2 separate regions of the Homo sapiens genome follow, and region 1 is linked to region 2. The links are contacts of gene promoters, found by promoter capture Hi-C in human tissues and cell types (Jung and others, 2019). All regions are on one chromosome and are shown on one strand. The core of a region is centred on a gene start or on the middle of the fragment in contact, and the rest is flanking DNA. Distances in the headings are between cores, read along the strand shown.

What was found. Contacts are between HindIII fragments. The study calls those that stand out against the background at their distance.
Region 1: a fragment that was not itself captured here is called in contact with the fragment with the promoter of CCDC146 in region 2 in 4 of the 25 tissues and cell types used here (adrenal gland, aorta, hippocampus and 1 more).

Annotation. Positions count from the first base shown.
Region 1 is chr7:77,156,038-77,161,672 of GRCh38, reverse strand. All of the region lies in intron 1 of CCDC146 (coiled-coil domain containing 146), which reads right to left. The region is part of intron 1 of LOC124901678 (a long non-coding RNA gene); the gene reads left to right. Among named protein-coding and RNA genes, the nearest start is that of CCDC146, 36 kb to the right of the region's middle. The HindIII fragment of the contact is 7,736 bases long and covers 1-5,635 here.
Region 2 is chr7:77,118,767-77,124,111 of GRCh38, reverse strand. It overlaps CCDC146 (coiled-coil domain containing 146), which reads right to left and starts at 1,497. Exons shown (of 19, transcript NM_020879.3): 1 at 1,380-1,497. It also overlaps the pseudogene FAM185BP. RefSeq lists a silencer at 1,712-1,811 and enhancers at 1,707-2,206, 2,207-2,708. The HindIII fragment of the contact is 9,649 bases long and covers 316-5,345 here.

The sequences.
Region 1 (5,635 bases), core at 2,503-5,002, 35 kb before region 2:
CTCCTAAAGCTATCCCTCCCCCCTCCCCCCACCCCACAACAGTCCCCAGAGTGTGACGTTCCCCTTCCTGGGTCCATGTGTTCTCATTGTTCAATTCCAACCTATGAGTGAGAATATGCGGTGTTTGGTTTTTTGTTCTTGTGATAGTTTACTGAGAATGATGATTTCCAATTTCATCCATGTCCCCACAAAGGACATGAACTCACCATTTTTTATGGCTGCATAGTATTCCATGGTGTATATGTGCCACATTTTCTTAATCCAGTCTATCATTGTTGGACATTTGGGTTGGTTCCAAGTCTTTGTTATTGTGAATAATGCCACAATAAACATACGTGTGCGTGTGTCTTTATAGCAGCATGATTTATAGTCCTTTGGGTATATACCCAGTAATGGGATGGCTGGGTCAAATGGTATTTCTAGTTCTAGATCCTTGAGGAATCACCACACTGACTTCCACAATGGTTGAACTAGTTTACAGTCCCACCAACAGTGTAAAAGTGTTCCTATTTCTACACATCCTCTCCAGCACCTGTTGTTTCCTGACTTTTTAATGATTGCCATTCTAACTGGTGTGAGATGGTATCTCATTGTGGTTTTGATTTGCACTTCTCTGATAGCCAGTGATGGAGAGCATTTTTTCATGTGTTTTTTGGCTGCATAAATGTCTTCTTTTGTGAAGTGTCTGTTCATGTCCTTCGCCCACTTTTTGATGGGGTTGTTTGTTTTTTTCTTGTAAATTTGTTTGAGTTCATTGTAGATTCTGGATATTAGCCCTTTGTCAGATGAGTAGGTTGCAAAAATTTTCTCCCATTTTGTAGGTTTCCTGTTCACTCTGATGGTAGTTTCTTTTGCTGTGCAGAAGCTCTTTAGTTTAATTAGATCCCATTGGCAATTAGGCAGGAGAAGGAAATAAAGGGTATTCAATTAGGAAAAGAGGAAGTCAAATTGTCCCTGTTTGCAGATGACATGATTGTATATCTAGAAAACCCCATGGTCTCAGCCCAAAATCTCCTTAAACTGATAAGCAACTTCAGCAAAGTCTCAGGATACAAAATCAATGTGCAAAAATCACAAGCATTCCTATACACCAATAATAGACAAACAGAGAGCCAAATCATGAGTGAACTCCCATTCACAATTGCTTCAAAGAGAATAAAATACCTAGGAATCCAACTTACAAGGGACGTGAAGGACCTCTTCAAGGAGAACTACAAACCACTGCTCAAGGAAATAAAAGAGGATACAAACAAATGGAAGAACATTCCATGCTCATGGGTAGAAAGAATCAATATCATGAAAATGGCCATACTGCCCAAGGTAATTTATAGATTCAATGCCATCCCCATCAAGCTACCAATTACTTTCTTCACAGAATTGGAAAAAACTACTTTAAAGTTCATATGGAACCAAAAAAGAGCCCACATCGCCAAGTCAATCCTAAGCCCAAAGAACAAAGCTGGAGGCATCACGCTACCTGACTTCAAACTATACTACAAGGCTACAGTAACCAAAACAGCATGGTACTTGTACCAAAACAGAGATATAGATCAATGGAACAGAATAGAGCCCTCAGAAATAGCGTCGCATATCTACAACTATCTGATCTTTGACAAACCTGAGAAAAACAAGCAATGGGGAAAGGATTCCCTATTTAAAAAATGGTGCTGTGAAAACTGGCTAGCCATATGTAGAAAGCTGAAACTGGATCCCTTCCTTACACCTTATACAAAAATTAATTCAAGATGGATTAAAGACTTAAACGTTAGACCTAAGACCATAAAAACCCTAGAAGAAAACCTAGGCATTACCATTCAGGACATAGGCATGGGCAAGGACTTCATGTCTAAAACACCAAAAGCAATGGCAACAAAAGATAGTAATTGTTGATAAGAATGTGAAGAAAAAGGAACCCTTGTACACTGTTAGTGGGAAGGTAAGTTGGTAAACCATTATAGAAAACAGTATGAAGTTTCCTCAAAAAGTAAAAAATAAACCTTCCTTATTATCCAGCAATTCTTCTGGTTATATATCCAAATGAATCGAAATCAGGATCTCGAAGCGATATTGGCACTCCCACGTTCATTTCATCACTATTTACAAAAGCCAAGATATGGAAACAACATAAATTTCCATGGACATATGAATGGACAAAGAAATTGCGATATATGTATACAATGGAACATTTTACAGCCACAGGAAAGGAAATTCTGCCATTTGCAACATCATGGATAGAAAATGAAATATTTAGGCAGACAGAGAAATACAAATACTATATGATCTCACTTATATATGGAACTTAAAGCAGTCAAACTCATAGAAGCAGAGTGGGATGGTGGTTGCCAGGGACTTGGGGTAGGAGAAACTGGGGAGTAATAGTTAAAGAGTACAAAATTTCAGCTATGCAAGATAAATAAGTTTTGAAGATCTACTAGACAGCATAGTGCCTGTAGCTAACAATACCCTATTGTATACTTAAAATTACTAAGAGATTAGATCTTATGATAAAGCAGCAACAAAAATAATAATACAGGGGGTGGATAAAACTTTGGATGGTGATAGATATGTTTATGAGATTGATGATGGTTGGTGGTTTCATGGATGTATACTTATCCCCAAACTCATTGAGATGTATACATTAAATATGTACAGTATTTTATACATCAACCATACCTCAATAACGTGTTTTTTTAAAAAAGGAAAGACAGGGAGAATGAGTAGTGAAAGAAAACCCAACAGAGGCAAATATAAAAAAGTCTGTGTGAATTAAAACAAAAAAACACTAATTAATCTAATTAAATAGGCAGGAAAGGACTTAACCAGATAACAAAGTTTAATGGATAAAACAAATATCTGGCTGGGCGCAGTGGTTTACGCCTGTAATCCCAGTACTTTGTGGTGTGGAGGTGGGCGGATCACGAGGTCAGAAGTTAGAGACCAGCCTGGCCAACATGGTGAAACCCCGTCTCTACTAAAAATACAAAAATTAGCCGGGCATGGTGGTGGGCGCCTGTAATCCCAGCTACTCAGGAGGCTGAGGCAGGAGAATCGTTTGAACCTGGAAGGCAGAGGTTGCAGTGAGCCGAGATAGCGCCACTGCACTCCAGCCTGGGCAACAGAGTGAAACTCTGTCTCAAAACAAAAAACAAAAAAAAACAATAAATATCCAAAGACAGTTAATATATAGGATTGCAAAGCCCATTGTATTAATAGTTCCATATTGCAGGCAATATGATTGACAGCTGTAAATAAAATAATAGAATAAAGTATATTCTCAGGCTACGGTGATATGAACAGAGAATGTTTAATATAACACCTTAAATTCCTGGCATAGGAAGAACTACATAGCCATCAGGTATGGTAATTCTAGAGACTTATATCTCCAGAATGCCTAAATCAATTAAATAAATATTTATTGAGTTTTCCTATAAAGAATTTACAAATATGCAAACAATGTATAATCTGAAGAGAAAGTAAGGCAGGGAAAGAACTAGTTCTCTGTCACATAAGCTGAGGTAAAATAAGCCCAAATAAAAAGCAACGTTCTTAGGAGAGTAGATAGGGCTGAAAAAGTAACTGGTAGCCTGGAATTTGGGACTTGAACTCTAGGCATTGGGAGCCATGGCAGAGTTGTAAAGATATTGCTGACAATATTGCTGAGAAGAATGGCTTGGAAAATGTGTGAATTTAGAGGCAAGGAAACAATCTGGAGGCTGGGACCCAGCCACTGTGCTATGGGTAGGAGATAGGTACCATGGTGAGCAAGACCAGACAAGGTTCCTGACCTTAGGGGACGCAGAGACTGGCAGCAAGACAAGTTAATCAAAAAATCACAGACATAAAATTCTAAACGTTTTAACTGAAATTGGTGCTATGATAACTTGGACCACAGAAACAGGGTGGCCACACACTGCACACTTACAGGGAGCACCACTGGCATAGCAAGTTCTGCAGAGAAGCAGCCCCCACTGGAAGGAGGCAAGGCAGTACCATGAGATGCTGTAGGAGTCTGAAGAGAAGAGGATGTGGCCTTAAGGGGATTTTAAGAAAGCAGAAGACATGAATAAGCCAAAATAGGAAGCTTCACAAAGAATAATTAAGCAATAAACATTGCAGGGTACCCCTTGTTTTGTAATACACATCAGTAATTCCTCTTCTTCAAATGAAACATAGGTGATCATCATTTTGTTTTGATTTTGAATTATTAAGGAAACATTTCTAGATAGTTACAAGGAGCATGTGTAAAAACCAAATACTGCATGCTCCAGAGAATGGGGCAGGATACACAAACAATGTGACTTTTGGACAATAAAATGGCAATGCTTCAAGAAAGCTGTAGCAGAAAACCACACGGTCTTTCAATATTACTCATCATTGAACAAGCACAGGTTTTGCTCATTTTAGAAACAGCAGGGTGTAATGTAAAGTTGAACATGATTTATTTCTCTCCTAGTCCCACACAGAACCTGAGTGTTCTTTTTTGTGACTTGGCTCTTCTGACTGCCCTGAAGATAAGATTGGGTGCTCCTTCCCCCAGCAGCCCATTGCTCTACAAGGTTAATTACAACATGTTTCTACAGGAACTCAGAGCTGACCCCTTGGAGGAAGGGAGAACTCTGGGACACTTCCATTTTTTTGTTTTGTTTTGTTTTAGTTTCCTAACATGTTAAAAAACATAGAAACTTCAAAACAGGGTTACAAAAATTGTGGTATAAAGTTGTATGACAAGTGCCTTCAATTCTGTCAGTGTATCTCTGGTAATTATATGTATATTATCTTTTGGAGATAACATAAAAAGTCTATAAAATTTAAGGCTCATCCTATGGGGCCTCCGGTCCACTATATGACAGGCTCAGAATATTGGGCAGCCAATCTGACATGAGGCATACCTCAGATCCATTTAATGGACAACAACAACAACAAAATCAGATGGAACTAACTTAATAGTCCTAAAAGCCACAGATAAAATGATTGCAGTTATTCCTGCCTAGATTTTATATTCTAAGTACAATTATACAATGCTCATTTTTACCATACAAAGACAATGTTAGACTTGAAACATTTTTTAAGATATAGATACATATTTTATTTTATTTATTTTTATTTTTGTGGGTACATAGTAGGTATATATATTTATGGAGATGCTTTTTTTAAAAAAGAAAGTAAAAATGTTATTCAAAGACCCAACAAATCAAATCACAACATTTTTTTTTTTCCTAAAAGGAATGATAAAGAGGACTTTCGAAAAAAGAATCCTGAAAAGAAAAGAGTCCTACAGGAAAAACAAAAAGAATCTTAAAGGAAAAATGAAAACTCTTGCAGTAAATATGTACAGATAAAAATTGCCTCATAATTGAAGTGTTAAAGTAACAATGGGGTTTGAACTACCTTCAATTAAAACCACACAAACGCACAAATAGCAAAACTCTGAAAGAAAGCTTCAAGTGCATATCTGGCCTTTAAAGTTAATGTTCAGACATGTTAAACAGTTACCTCTTAGATTATACGCATGTGTAATCCATGAGGAATCTGTTAATTGCAACATGATGGTGGAGAACCCAAGTCTCTATTACAGAATCAGCACCCCTCCCGAGGATGGAAGGGTGCTGAGAGAGCTCTAGGCCTTCTCCTTCAT
Region 2 (5,345 bases), core at 248-2,747:
AATTAACTATTAAGAATTAATATTTAATCTAAAAATGTCTAGTGTTTCTACAGAAAATTTGAGTACATTCTCAACTTCCTTAAACCAGTGCCTTTTTCAAATTTCTTTTCAAAGTTACACCTGTCAATTTTCATAAAAAATAGTTTGAAGATTATTCTGAATAATTATAACCAATGAAACACAAAGACAAGAAAAGAACTATTGCAGTGGGCCCTTGCTGAACCTGAGCTAGCACCTATAATGAGTGAGTCTTCACCGAAAGAAGAATAAGGAGGGAGCAAGGACTAGAAGGACAGAAAAGAGGCAATGATAACTTAAGAGAACACTGAATTTTTAAAAATTTTAAAAAGGTAGTGGCTAGCAGAGAACCTGAGACTTGTACCCATGAGAACTTTAGCCCAGTCTATCTATCACGATAGCCCCAAGAATTCTGGTCATTGTACTTGGGTAAGGGCTTCAATTTTTTAAGGCACTTGCATTTTATGAAATGTTAGTGTTTGCAGGTGTCTTGGCTAAATAATTTAGGGAATACATTTTAGGAGGAAGTAGGGGCACAGAGGGGGAGAGAGAAACCAGGCAGGAAAGAAGAAAAAAAGAAGAAAATAAATCTTTCTGTTCCCATTATTTTACTGCCCATAGAATTATAAAAGGTAAACACACACACACACACACACACACACACACACACACACACACACACACACACACCTTATAGGGTCATTTAGAACCATCTTTCTTCATTTTAAAACTAAAGAAACAGGTCTAGGTGACACAGATGAAGCAGTGGCAGAGCCAGGAAAATAATCTGACCCTTGTCCCTGCTCTTTCCACCGCACCATGGTGACTCTCTTTTTTGTGTCTTTTTTTTTTTCACTCTAAAACTGATGATCATTTGTAGTCAAAGAGATCAATGCTATTCTCAAAACAAGTTCTGATCTCTCATAATTTTCTTGGTAACTCAGAATCAATGTTAAGTACGTTGAAATAAAAATACAGTACTTTACACGGTAATTTGGTAGACTGTGCACCACGGTCCCATCCATTTTCTTACTTGATCCTCACAAAAACCCTTTGAGGCAAGGCAAGGAAGGTATTATCATCTACATTTTTAAAGTGAGCAAATTAAAACCCAAAGTAAGGTCACTTAGGGTCAGGACGGAGCAAGTACTCTATTCCTATATTTGGAATATAGGAGGGAATACACTTCCAAAGAGGCAATTCCCTCAAAAAGCACCAATCTTGCTCTTTACTCTCTTACCAAGGCATTCTCCATGCCCTGGAGATGCCCGCACTAGGTTAGTGAAGCTTGGATCTTGACATCCACATAGGTTACTCCTAGTTTGCACCTAGTTGTCAACTTAAAAAGCGCAGTTTCTTACCCCTTCCCTTGGTCCTGATCCTTATTTAGGCTCCTATTTTTCTCTTTGGGATTTGGCCTCCTGGGTCTCACTCCAAAGCTCCACCCTCTCCAAACAAGAAGTCGCGTCCTTGGTATCCAAGGTGACCATGCAGCTTTACCCTCGTTGCCCCCTTCCGTGCTTCCCATTGGCCAGTGGCCTCCCATGTACCGCCCCTCCAATAGCCAATGGTCTTGAAACAAAGGGCGCCCGCCTTTCCAGCGATTCTAACACCTGCCCTCTTACCCGTGCTCCCCTGCGCATTGCCTCCTGGGATATGTGGTTTCTAAGAGGCGGAGCTCTGCGACTTTCCACCGCTTTAGAACTACGTATCCCGTCGGCCTTAGCGAAAGGGGGTGGACTTAGGCAAGGGGTCCAGGTCAGAGTTCAGAGCTTTCAAATCCCAACTTGCCCCTGGGGATTACGCAGCTGATGTTTACATCGCCTAGTCAAGCCAACCGGCTCGCTCTTGTTTCAGCAAACCCTGACTTACGTCTCCTATTTGACTTGAGGCGGCACAGTGGCCAAGTCGATTGGCCGTGGCAAGTGACCCTCCCTGTGGCTGAAGTGTTCTGAGGACTGGCGAGAGAGGCGCGCCATGCTTGCCCCCTGTTCAGGTTGGGAGCTTGGCTGCTTCCGTCTCTGTCTCCGTCAGGTCCGACTGTGGGCTGGCGCTGGGCGCTGGTCTTGCTGGGCTTGCCAAGCCAGGCCGTACAGCTCAGGTAGGGGCGAGCGCTGGCCCGGATCGGAGACTGAGGTCCCTCCGCCTGGCCCGGCGCGCCGAACTCTGAAGGAGTGGACACTGCAGGTGAGCCCGTTCGGTCGGCTGCGGGCGCGGCTCCCGTGCCACCTGGCCGTGAGGCCCCTGGACCCCCTCACCTACCCGGATGGCGACCGCGTGCTGGTCGCGGTGTGCGGCGTGGAGGGCGGCGTGCGGGGCCTGGACGGCCTGCAGGTGAAGTACGACGAGGATCTGGAGGAGATGGCCATTGTGTCTGATACTATCCACCCCCAGGCGTCCGTGGAGGTGAACGCGCCCCTGAAGTTTGGCAAGTGAAGTGAAGTGAAAACGGGTTTGGGTCCCAGGGAACGCACAGTGAACTTAATAAATTTGGTCGACGTGCACTTTTAATTGGTCCTGGCTTTCTAAACCTAATTTACAGTTGGCCCCTTCGGAAATGCAACTTTTCCTCTGTTCTATTCTTGAGTATCCGAGTAGTATTTAAAAAATTAGGTTCCCAATTATAGAAATTTTATACATCGAATGGAAACACGATTTGGTATAATCCAGGTCAAATTCTATTTCTGGAGCCGCTTGTGTTCTTCTTTATCCCGTTGTCATTAGCAAACTGGCTTATTTTTCAAGGTTGAAGTTTCTTGACAATTCATTCAATGGTATGGCAGTCCATCTACATTTCCCCTTGCTCACAGCCTGGGGGTGTGTCCCAAAACAGCCCTGTCAATAGGATGTTCCAGGTACCACCTGGTTTGAGTATTTGGTTTTAGACGGGCGCCCAGCTTCTTACTGTTATGTTTCCATTCTTTTTGGCCTAAGTTTTCCATGAGTAGCAAGCTTTGAAGAAAAACACATGGTAAGCCTGCCTAGGAAGCTTCAATAATAATGCCTGCAAGATACCTTTCTTAGGTTTTCCTAAATGGCAAGCCACTGTGTACACACACTTTTCTAGGAAGGGCTCCCCAGACTGTCATTCTTCCTGGGACTGAAGGAAGATATTGATGATGATGATGATGGTAATAATAATAGCATTTAGCATTTTTAAGATCATCTTTTATAATGCTTACAGTTGCCCAAATAGTAGATGCCGTAGTCCTCCCTTATCCACCGTTTGGCTGTCTGAGTTTGTTACCTGCCTCAACTGTTGTAGGAAAATATTAAGATATTTTGACAGATCACAGTAATATAACTTTTATTACAGTATATTGTTATAATTGCTGTATTTATTATTATTGTTGTTCATCTCTTACTATGCCTAGTTTATAAATTAAACTTGATCATTGATATGTATACAGGAAAAAACATAGAATATATAGGATTTGGTACTATTTGTGGTTTCAGGAATCAAGTCGGGGGGGCGGGTCTTGCCTACTTTAAGAGAAATCATCAATATTTATGTTAATTCCAAATTAAATATCAGCGTTTTTAATTTTTAAAATTTGTATACAGCGATGCCTGCAGTTACATCTTAAATAGACAGCCAAGGATGGCATTTGTAATTCCTTATTTTCCAAACTTGCTTCATGTACCACTGCCATTTGTCCACAATCTTGTGGGGTTTTTTGTTTGTTTGTTTTGGTTTTTTTTGAGACTGCATCTCACTCACTCTGCCATGCAGGCTGGAGTACAGGTGCACAATCATGGCCCACTGCAGTCTTGACTTCACGGTTTTAAGCAATCTTCTCGCCTCCGCCTCCTGAGTAGCTGGGACTACAGGTGCATGCTACCATGCCTGGCTAATGTTTTTGTTTTTTTGTAGAAAGGGAGTTTTGCCACATTGTCCAGGCTGGTCTTGAACTCCTGGGCTTCAAGCAATCCTCCTTCCTCGGCCTCCCAAAGTGCTGGTATTACAGGCATGAGCCACGGCTCATGGCCTAATCTTGTAGTTTTAATAGTATATATTAGGTTTTTCAAAGTTGTTCCCATTTTTAAAAAATTACTTCAAATACCTTGTGATATAGTTGCATGGTAATATTTTCATTTTTTAAGTATGAAAGGTTAGACATAGGATTTGAAAACCTAAGTCATGATCATATATACTGGGGAAGAGGCTTCTACAGTCTTTCACAGGAGTACTTAACAGAATCGTAGTCTCCTTTACTTCCCATCTATGTTAGTTCTCTTTAGGTGATTTAGGCCAGTAGAAATAACTGCTCTGTTTCTAAAAACGGGCAGAAAGGCTATTGTATTTGGTCCCGTTGCCGTGGTAGAAGACCCCTTACCTTTACAGTATGCACTTTCCAGGATTCAGCAATATTATGGACATAACTGAGGAGTTGGGTTTCTAGGTTAAAATGCTTTGGAGCTTATAAACTGCAGTACTAACTTGCTTTTTTCTTTTTTTACTTCTAGGTTTAGATATCAAGTCATCAGGGTCTGGCTGTGTAGAAGTTCAAAGTATTGAGGGTGATAATTGCAAAATTGAAACAGAGCATGGGACTAGCATCTTGCAGTCTGTTAAGGTATAGCATTTTTCTAATTTTATTTCACTATTATTTTTTTAAAAGCCTTAAGCTATGAATCGTACTATCAAACTCAAGAGATTCTTCTGTTTTTCAGAACATTGTCATTTATTCATCTCTCAGAAAGTCCTTGGCAAACATTTTGCCTTGAAATCAGTTCTAGTAAAGTACAGAGGTTATAGCAGTTTTGAGGTTTTGCCTCAAATTTCTTTTTGATTTAATTTCAAAGTGTACAGTGAAACTAATAGTATTTTCCTAGTATTCTGAAATCTTACTAAAGAAATTTTAGTTTCCACAAATGATTTTCTTCCATTTTATTAAAGAGTAAGGAAGAATCTTTGTGCACTATAAATGTGCTTAAATATTAGATGACTTTAATCACATTTTTAATGTACCAGGTAGCTAGCTCATTACTTAAGGATTAAGTAGTTATTTGTGCAAAGTAACATATGATTCATCTTGTTTTGTAATTAAATTTTTTTTTTTTTTTGAGACGGAGTCTTACTCTGTCACCAGGCTGGAGTGCAGTGGTGCAATCTCAGCTCACTGCAACCTCTGACTCCCTGGTACAAGCAATTCTCCTGCCTCAGCCTCCCAAGTAGCTGGGATTACAGGCATGCACCACCACACTCAGTTAATGTTTGTATATTTAGTAGAGACAGGGTTTCACCATGTTGGCCAGGCTGGTCTCGATCTCCTGACCTCGTGATCCGCCTGCCTTGGCCTCCCAAAGTGCTAGGATTACAGGCA